3 separate regions of the Homo sapiens genome follow, and all the other regions are linked to region 1. The links are contacts of gene promoters, found by promoter capture Hi-C in blood cells and fetal thymus (Javierre and others, 2016). All regions are on one chromosome and are shown on one strand. The core of a region is centred on a gene start or on the middle of the fragment in contact, and the rest is flanking DNA. Distances in the headings are between cores, read along the strand shown.

Region 1 (3,180 bases), core at 445-2,944:
CACGAGTTTCACTGGAACATAAAAACACGGGCAACAAAACTCTTATGTTAACTTACCTATCTCAGGCAAAGAGAAATCTGACTACTTAAGTTTTTCATTTCTGCATTCAAACGTACAGTACAGGAAGGGGATTGAACAGAATACTTTTAATGGAAAACTCGTGCTTGCATTTAATCTTTTGCAAATTAGCAATGCTGTATATTTTATGTCCTGTTCCTTTCACTATTTTATTTTCAAGGAAATATAGTATAATTGAATATCCCTTGATTTGTTTACCCTGGTGTTATCCTGGAATGAAACAAACTATCTGTCGGGGCATAAGGAATTAATTTATGGACATCCAATTACTAAGAATCTATGTGCAAGCAATGGTGCTCCTGTATGTTTTCATTTTCGAGACAGAAAAATGCAACAGGCGAGTTAAAGTATACATCCCTGACTGCTGTGATGAGCTTGACATCCAAAATAGGTGTTAAAAACAGGGCAGGCTTCAAATGTTGCCACATTGTAAAAGTCATCACTGTCCCAAGGCTCAAACACCAGCCTGTTCTGACTGATCAGGTCACCACTTAACATCTCTGAAACACTGCTCAGTCAAACCTGAGTTATTAAGCTGATCCATTTAAAGTGTAAAATGTTTAATCCCCCATGATAAGGTTAGTTTCTTGAAGTCTCTCAGATATCAAATTAGTTCCAACAACCAATTTAGAAAATCAGTCGCTTCGGCCGGGCGCGGTGGCTCACGCCTGTAATCCCAGCACTTTGGGAGGCCGAGACGGGCGGATCACGAGGTCAGGAGATCGAGACCATCCTGGCTAACACGGTGAAACCTCGTCTCTACTAAAAATACAAAAATTAGCCGGGCGTGGTGGCGCGCGCCTGTAGACCCAGCTACACGGGAGGCTGAGGCAGGAGAATGGCGTGAACCCGGGAGGCGGAGCCTGCAGTGAGCCGAGATCGCGCCACTGCACTCCAGCCTGGGCGACAGAGCGAAACTCCGTCTAAAAAAAAAAAAAAAAAAAAAAGGAAAATCAGTCGCTTCCTGGGCCGAGCCTAGGCAGGATGCTCTGGTGAGATCCACAGGTACGCAGGTGGGAGAGGGATTCAAGCTGGGGAGGAGGCAGTGGTGGGGAGGAGGCGCGAGACCCGCCCTGATTTGGGGAAAAAGCGAGGTGCACGTGGCTGCCCCACAGCCTAACTCCCTGGTCCCGGCCCTGAACCTCGAATCCCTCCCTGGACTCACTCCCAGTTCGGCGGGTTGACACGAGTGAGCAGCCAGAACGCCCCTGACAACAGCTCCCTCCAGACTGGGTACCGCCCCCACGCCCGGCGCATCCTGGGAGTTGTAGTCCTGTAGCCCTGCAAGCCACTGGCTTAGAGCAGTTAAGAGACTACAACTCCCAGCAAGCCGGGCGAGGGCCCCGCCCCTCCGCGTACCGCCGGCGGCCCCGCCCCGCGAAGCCTAGCACTCTCCCCAAACCTCTCTCGCACGCGGGGACTGAGCACGGCCCGAAAAGCCGAGGACAGCCGGACTCACCCTGTAGTTATAGTAGTGCGTCTGCACAAGATGCCGGTGGCGCGACTTGTGGTTGCCGAAGTTGGATTTCTCGCAAACCAGTAAGTGCCGCGGCGCCTCCCGAAGCCGGCGCAGCGTGGCCATGCTCTCCTGGGTTCCTGGTCCTCCCGGCCTCCGCTGGCGGGGCACGCCCCGCCCCTTCCTCCCGCCCCGCCCCTTCCCTCCGGCCGCATACCCGCTGCTGTGCGCCCCTGGCGGCGGTGGAGTGGGGATGGCGGCGCTGGATTTCTGAGCAGTTCTTAGACTTCTTAGGAGCCCACGCAGCCGCTCTTTGGTGGATGTCTGAAGCTGTAAATTCACTGTCCCAGTGGCTGGGAACCTGGCTCTTGCCTTTTCAACGCCACTTTTCCTCCGTCCCCGCCATCCCTTGGAATTGCCCTAAACCCTCTCTGTGGGCCCCGCCTCGGAGCGCCCCTTGGACCCCAGCCTGGCGCCGGCGCATACCTCGGTCAGGCCCCTCAGAGGGACCGCTTCCTGCCACCGTTATAAAAGGAAAACATCGCATGGAAAGGCCCAGTTCCTTTAGTATATGGTCAAGAAATGTAGCCGCACAGTTAAGTAACCCCCTAAGCTGCTTTGGGGGCCACACCCAGCTGCTTTCTGACTTCTCACACTGTTTGGTTCACAGGACTCTGTTACCCATTGGGGACCTCTTGGCCATTATTAACACAGGCCAACAGGACTAAAAGTTTGTATCAGTCCTTCCCAAAACATTAGGGAAGGTTGTGCGGGAAGGTAAAGCACAATTTTTGCCTTACAATAGGACTCCTTTGAAACTACTATTGAGTTCCCTTTTAAATAGCCCTTCAGAACCGCTTTTAATAATGTGTTGTTTCTGGGGGTTAATAGTGATAATTCTCCTAAGTCATTTTTCCATTTCGTTTTTCTGTCACGGGCTTGGAGCGGTTAAGAGACTGCGGCTCCCAGCATGCGGTACGTTACTGATCAGGGCAAAATCAAGTATGTTACTACATGCTTCTCAAACTAGAGAGGCACAGCCCCAATTCTGCACTGGCAGGATACAAAACAGCAGAATATTGGTGATACATCTTCCTGGAACATCAGTTTTTCTATGAGATGTGGAAGAAATGGAATTAAGTAGTTTACAAGGTAAATAATTAAGAATTTAAAACTAAGCCAGTCACAGTGGGTCATGCCTGTAATCCCAGCACTTTGGGAGGCTGAGGTGGGAGGATCACTTGAGCTTAGGAGTTCAAGACCAGCCTGGGCAATATAGTGAGACCCCATCTCCAAAAATAAAAATAAAACTAAGACAAGGCTGGAAAGTCATCTGCCATTATAAACATCAGTAATCTGGCCGAGCACAGTGGCTCACGCCTGTAGTCCCAGCACTTTGGGAGGCTGAGGTGGGAGGATCACTTGAACTCAGAAGTTCACGACCACCCTGGACAATATAGTAAGACCCCATCTCAAAAAAAAAAATTAAAACTAAGACAAGGCCGGAAAGTCATCTGCCACTAAAAACATCGGTAATCTGGCTGAGTGCTGTGGCTCACGCCTGTAGTCCCAGCAATTTGGGAGGCCGAGGCGAGCAGATCGCCTGAGGTCAGGAGTTCAAGACCACCCTGGCCAACATGGTGAAA
Region 2 (3,180 bases), core at 256-2,755, 3.4 Mb after region 1:
ATATATATATTTTAAAAATCACAGGTGTGTATAATTGCCTGAGGCCTCTTCCTAAATTCAACACAGATATTCAACTTCAACTGCTAAAATGGAATAAAAAGGTAGCATTTCCGGCATACAATGTATATTTAAAAATTAAAATTAGTGATAATGTTGAGTTACAATGACCTATTGAAGTCACAATTATTTCAGTTTATTTTTGAGTTTTCCGACCTGAAGGACAAAAGTCCCACACCAAAAAAAGGTAGAATATGAAAAAAAAGTCATTACGGTGTCATTAACCTGAAAAAACGTGATTTTAACTATACTTTGCCACACTCAACGTTACAAATAAAAGAATCTTACCATGCCATTATGCCTTGATTAACTGCGCTCCGGAATCAATCATGGCCTATGGTGTACGATTATAAAACAGAAAAAACAAAGTTCCATCTCATTTCTTTGTACACACATCATTACACAAAGGTGGAGAAACCCTGTGCTAATGTTTGAAGACTATTCTTTTTTTTTTCCAAGAGAAAAAGTTAACACTAGGACTTTATATATTAAGTAATTAAGTAAAAATAACGCTGTCTAAATTATTTTGAAATGCTGCCTCTCTTCCAAGTTCCAAACTATCTCAATTCACTTAGAAAAACGTTTAATCAAAAAACAATTCTAGGCTTCTGATATCCTAATGTAGAAAAAATGCAGATACTCAACACTTAAGATTTTGTTAGCGCACCAAATCATTCCATCTTTTACTTTCAATATTCCTTAAATAATAAAAAGACGGGAGAGATAATTCAGTTGCAAAGACTGGAGGAAACTTGCAGAACTTCTAGTGGAAGTTTATGCCATAAACTTAATAGCCCAGCCAGAACAATCACATTCTACTGCAAGCCAAATGGAGAAAAGAGTACCTTGGAGTGCCCCTATTTAATAAACACGGAACGAGGAAACAGTTAACTGTAAATACAGTCTAGAGGTATCCAGGTGACTGACAGTTCTCCAGAGACCCCGAGAACAGCGTAAAAGACCCCTTGAGGTCACCTCACCCCTGCGAGTCCACGGATTGGGACCTGAGGGAGTTCTCGCCAGCCCGAGGGCGAAAAACGGGCGAGGAGGAACAGATGCTCCTCCCTGGAAACCGCCCGGCCGGTTTCCGCTCTTTCAAAAAAGGGAATCACCCGTTTCTTCCATCCCGACCTCATCCATTCCTCGAACGCTCCTTCTGGATGAGGAAGATGGGCAGTGTCAAGGTTTTCTGGAGGAGAGGAGATCTGGGTCCCAAACACAGGAAAGGCCCCGAAGGCACGCGTACCCCAAGGCCGGTATGTCACCCGGAAGGGTGACGGCAGCCTGCGTGGCGTCTGAGCTAGACGGAGCATCTCCCCCTCCCCTGGTCCGTCGCCATCACCTCCTCTTCCTCCTCCTCCTCGCCCACTCCTGCACTTTCCACCGCGGCGGTCGCCTCCCCGGAAAGCACTCTCAACTCCGGCGCCCGCAGGCCACTTCCGCCTATGTGTCCCTGCGCGCGTGCGCAGACGCGTGGCCCCGCCTCCCGACAGGCCTGTGTGGCCGGTGGCGGGCGGGCCGTTACCTCCCGCGCATGCTCTATGGGGTAGAGACGCTAGGCCGGCACTGCCTAGGTGGGCCGGGCGGTGCGAGGGTCGCCTTTCAGCCTTTACCTCTACCCACTGAAATGGAGTAGGTCGGTGAGCGCCGATCTGCTGGAGAATCTCATTATCCCATCGGCGCTCTGCCTGCTCCTGGCCTCCAAGCCTCTGAAGCCCCTCGGGTTTCAGCTGCCGGCTACCCTCGAGCCCGTGGTGCCCACGAGAGAGGCGACTTTACGTCAGCGGCCCTGGGCTGAGATTTGAGAACGCGACCAAGTGGAGAATGTTGGAGCCAGATTTTAAAATCCTTGTCTTCCTTCTGCGTGCTACTTGATCTAAATGAGATACGGCAAAGTCACAGAACCTGTTTTTATGTTTTTGCCTGATTCATACGGGCTTCTCCGGTGAAGATGGGCCTGAAGTAACGCTTGGGTTGCTTCTGACGTTATAACTCATCCTGTAGCTGCAGCAACCGTGGTCCTTGCAACCTCATAAAAATGTTGCCAGCATTGTTTCGATAGTGCTGCTTAATTCTTGGAAGGTAAATCTCAAAGCTTGAGGACCAGCCATCAAAACTTTTGTAAAAGGTTTTCCCCGCGTTTAGGGCCTCATCCATCACCACTGAGATGTAATAACGTAAAAACCAAGACGGTTTGGGGATGAGCTGTTTTCAGAGAATAATTAAGGAAAATATTACTGTAACGAAGATGGACAATTTTTGAAAGCATGCCTTGAATACCAGAAAGGGATGAATTGGATTAATATGTATGTTAGAATCCAGTCAGTTATGGACAACTTTTAAAATTTTACAGGCACTCTTCAGAAAGGGTAGCATTTGTGTCTTGTATTGGGATCGAGGGTTTGTAAGAAAGCAAGGCACCTACTTTGGTGGTGAGAAAAAAAGGTCTGGGTAGACATTTTCGTTTAATACTTGCCAACGTTGTTAGGCTGGTGTTAGCAACACTTAGGAATGTTGGAATTAAGGCTTAGAGAACTTAAATTTCCTAAAGAGATAGTAAATGACAAAACCTTTCAGTGATGCCATATCGTCACTGTATAATGTGAATTTAGTACTACTGTTAGCCATTTATATGGTGGTTATTTATCAAGTATTTATTAAATGGGCATATGTATAGCTCATATCGTAAACTATGCGTATGAGCTCCCTGTCCTGAAGAAATTAGGGGTTTCCATGAGAAAGTAAATGGCAGTATAAAACAACTTAAGGTACAAGAGGTGTTACAAGGTACCATCTGCTCATGCCTGGACAATTGCAGTAGCCGTGAGCATAGCTTTCTGCATTCCCTTTATTTCTCTACATAGTTGCATTCAGCAGCTGGAGTGATCCCATTAGAACCTGAATATGCCACTCCTCTGTGCAGAACCTTTTAGCGGTTTACCATTTTACTCAGATTAAAGTTCAAAATTCTTACCCTGACTTTTAAGACTGAACTTATTCTTGATGGATCACATCCAAGCTACACTTCAGAGCTTTTCTAATTGCCCCCAAGCACAGCAAGCATCAGTGCTTTGTAGCTGTTGTTCCTTCTGCATGGAACACTGCCCTCTCAGATGTCCACAG
Region 3 (3,180 bases), core at 283-2,782, 3.1 Mb after region 1:
TTGTGCCACTGTACTCCAGCCCGAGCAACAGAGTGAGACTCCATCTCAAAAAAAAAGATTGCTTCCAAGAGGTCATGGTGTTCAAGTTGAGACTTGAAGGATGAACAAGAGTTGGTCAGGTGAGTGGTGGGGTGGAAAACTGAGGGAGAGTTCTGAGCAATGGGAATTGCATATGCAAAGGCTGCAAAGTGGAAGAGAGCATGATTCTTTGGAGTAACTGTTCAGGCTAGACCGGTAAGCAGATGCTGGATTGGAAGGGTCCTTGAACGATGCCTCTAAAAATTTTTAGAGGCCTCTGGGCATCCTTTATTTTTGATGGTTAATTTTATGTGTCACCTTGACTGGGCTTCAGGATGCCTGGATATCTGGTAATACATCATTTCTGGGTGTGTCTGTCAGGGTGTTTCCAGAAATGATGAGCATTTAAGTTGGTGGACTGAATGAAGATGATCACCCTCACCAGCGTGGGTGGGCATCATCCCGTCTGTGAGGACCTGGATAAAACAAAAGTATGAGGGAAGGTGATATTTACTCCTGACCTGACTGCTGAGCTGGAACACTGATCTTCTCTTGCCCATGGTGCTCCTGGTTCTCAAGTCTTCAAACTCAGATGGGAATCTTTACCATTGCTGTCCAGCTCCCAGGCTTTTGAATGGTACCACCATGTATTAGTCCATTTTCACGCTGCTGATAAAGACATACCTGAGACTGGGCAATTTACAAGAGGAAGAGGTTTATGGGACTTACGATTCTGCGTGGCTGGAGAGCCTTCACAATCATGGTGGAAGGTGTAAGGCACATCTCATGTGGCGGCAGACAAGAGAAGAGAACTTGTGCAGGGAAGCTCCCATTTTTAAAACCATCACATCTCATGAGACTTATTCACTGTCATGAGACCAGCATGGGAAAGACACACCCCTATGATTCAATAACCTCCAACCAGGTTCCTCCCACAACACGTGGGAATTGTGAGAGTTACAATTCAAGATGAGATTTGGGTGGGGACACAGCCAAACCATATCACAGCATCTTTCCTGGGTCTCTAACTTCCAGACAGCAGATCACTGGACTTCTCAGCCTCCATAATTGTGTGAGCCAATTCTTATCTACAATCATTTATATACACCTATCTCTATGCGGAGGACAGAGTCTTGCTATGTCACCCAGGCTGGAGTGCAATGGTGTGATCTCATCTCACTGCAAACTCTGCCTCCCAGGTTCAAGCGATTCTCCTACCTCAGACTCCTGAGTAGCTGGGATTATAGGCACGCACCACCACGCCCAGCTAATTTTTTGTATTTTTTAGTAGAGACAGGGTTTCACCATGTTGGCCAGGCTGGTCTTGAACTCCTGACCTCGTGATCCACCCACCTTGGCCTTCCAAAGTGCTGGGATTACAGGTGTGAGCCACCATGCCTGGCCTCAGGTGATCTTTCTTAGCTGCCAATCTATTTGGTCACTCCTTCCAGAAAACATGCCTGTGGCTCTTCATGGCACTTAGAATTTAGTCCAGCCTCCTTTATCTGGGAGCTAAGGTCCTTTATAACCTGACCTCTGTTGACTTTTTCATGCTCACTTCTAGACACTTCCTGCCTGGCATTTTTTGCCCCAGCCTTGGCCATCTCCTCACAGCTCCTGGGAGCCCAAAATATTCTCTTGCCTCTGGGCCTTTCTGTCTCTGGTTCACTCCAGCAGGAATGCCCCGCTTCCTCTCTTAGGGCTGAATTTGAGCACTCATAACAGCCTTGGGAATGCTCCTGCCACAAGACAGACCCCACTGTGCTGAGGCTACCTTCTTGGTATCTGCCTGCCCTGGCCGGCATGCTGACTGAGCACACAGACTGCATCCTGTTTATTACTGAGTCATCGCACCAGGCACCAGCCTTGGAACAGAGTGATCACTGGATACATTCATTTGCCGAATGAATAAAGAATCATGCAAACATATGGAATGATGTGGAAAGCTAGGTCAATGGGTCAAAACAAGTAACATGAGAACTGTGAGGATATTACACAGTCTCATCTTTAAGCAAACATTAAACACCAAAAATTAAAAATCCCTTATCTGACGGTTGACCAGTGCAAATGAAAATGACTCAAAACTACAAGTCAGGAATGGACAACCAATGTACTGAAAGAAAAATCATTTTCTTTCGCTAGTCTCCCAAACATTCATTGATCCCCCAAACCACCTTCTCTGGGCTCAGGAAGTGGCCATTTATTACATTATCACCATCATCATCGCCATCGTCCTCATTCTCCTCCCTCTCGGCATCCGGCTGTCAAACACTTACTGATCACTGCTCTGTGCTGGACTCTGTTCTAAGCTCTTGTATTAACTCATGAATTATCACACCAGCCTTTGAAGCAGATACCATTGTTATCCCCATTTTATAGATGAGGAAATTGAGGCTCCAAGAAGTGTAAGAAAATGAATCTTCAGAGCATTACAGATAGAGAAATACCTTAGAAAAGAACAAAGTATCCCCCAGATTTTGAGTCCTGCCCCGACATCCTCTCTATAGCCTCCTAATTCTCCGACTCAGCGGCGACTCAATTTAGAACTCCAGGCTCATCTTGGGGGACTCCAGTTCATCAAGGCTTGGGTGGATCTTGGCTTGAGAGCCATGCTGGGGACCCTGCTGCACAGTGTCACTGAGATTGTTGCAGAGGAGGTGTGAGAGAGGAGCTGTCAGCACAGCTCCAACCACAGCCCTGGGGACAATGACAGCAGAGTCACAGGATTTTTAGCAGCAGAACGTCTTCTCCACACTCCCTGGAGGAAGGCTCAAGGGCGGAGCATGTCCTCGGTGCCACCCTTCAGGTGAAGAGTCAGCCTGGGGCCAGCATGCTGGTGACAGGCTAATTCTTTCTGTTCAAGAGCAGCACAGGCCATTGAAGGGACATGTGCCCCGAGAACTACTTCCTTTCAGACTCTGCTCAGGGTCACCTTCTCTCTGCAGACTTTCCTAATCCCTTCCTATCCTCACCCCCAACCCAGGCAGCGCTGGTCACTCTGTGTTTTGGGTTCTGCTGAACCCTGTATTTGCTCCCTACAAAGAAATTTGCCATACTTCATTGCACCTATTTATTCACATTTTGGACTCTTCCAAATAGACTCTAAATCACTTGAGATGCAACTGACACAGAGTAGGCATTCAATAATATTTCTAGAATGAG

Evidence for each region. The method cuts DNA at HindIII sites, captures the fragments that hold promoters and counts their contacts. A CHiCAGO score of 5 or more calls a contact.
Region 2: the fragment with the promoter of SLC35B3 here is called in contact with the fragment with the promoter of RPP40 in region 1 in 3 of 17 cell types (activated CD4 T cells, non-activated CD4 T cells and total CD8 T cells); the score reaches 6.8 in activated CD4 T cells.
Region 3: a fragment that was not itself captured here is called in contact with the fragment with the promoter of RPP40 in region 1 in 1 of 17 cell types (naive CD4 T cells); the score reaches 5.7 in naive CD4 T cells.

What each region holds. Positions count from the first base shown.
Region 1 is chr6:5,002,343-5,005,522 of GRCh38, forward strand. RPP40 (ribonuclease P/MRP subunit p40) reads right to left here and starts at 1,695. Exons shown (of 8, transcript NM_006638.4): 1 at 1,538-1,695. The coding sequence starts at 1,660. It overlaps LYRM4-AS1 (LYRM4 antisense RNA 1), which reads left to right and starts at 1,474. Exons shown (of 4, transcript NR_126015.1): 1 at 1,474-1,617. RefSeq lists silencers at 1,296-1,545, 1,676-1,805. The HindIII fragment of the contact is 5,117 bases long and covers 1-3,180 here.
Region 2 is chr6:8,434,040-8,437,219 of GRCh38, forward strand. It overlaps SLC35B3 (solute carrier family 35 member B3), which reads right to left and starts at 1,506. Exons shown (of 10, transcript NM_001370479.2): 1 at 1,304-1,506. LOC100506207 (a long non-coding RNA gene) reads left to right here and starts at 1,584. Exons shown (of 5, transcript NR_038980.1): 1 at 1,584-2,139. RefSeq lists enhancers at 1,134-1,273, 1,246-1,787, 1,284-1,343, 1,544-1,713, 1,654-1,733 and 1 more. The HindIII fragment of the contact is 10,856 bases long and covers 1-2,150 here.
Region 3 is chr6:8,106,619-8,109,798 of GRCh38, forward strand. No RefSeq gene overlaps it. Among named protein-coding and RNA genes, the nearest start is that of EEF1E1-BLOC1S5, 5.6 kb to the left of the region's middle. RefSeq lists a silencer at 2,515-2,707. The HindIII fragment of the contact is 4,957 bases long and covers 1-3,180 here.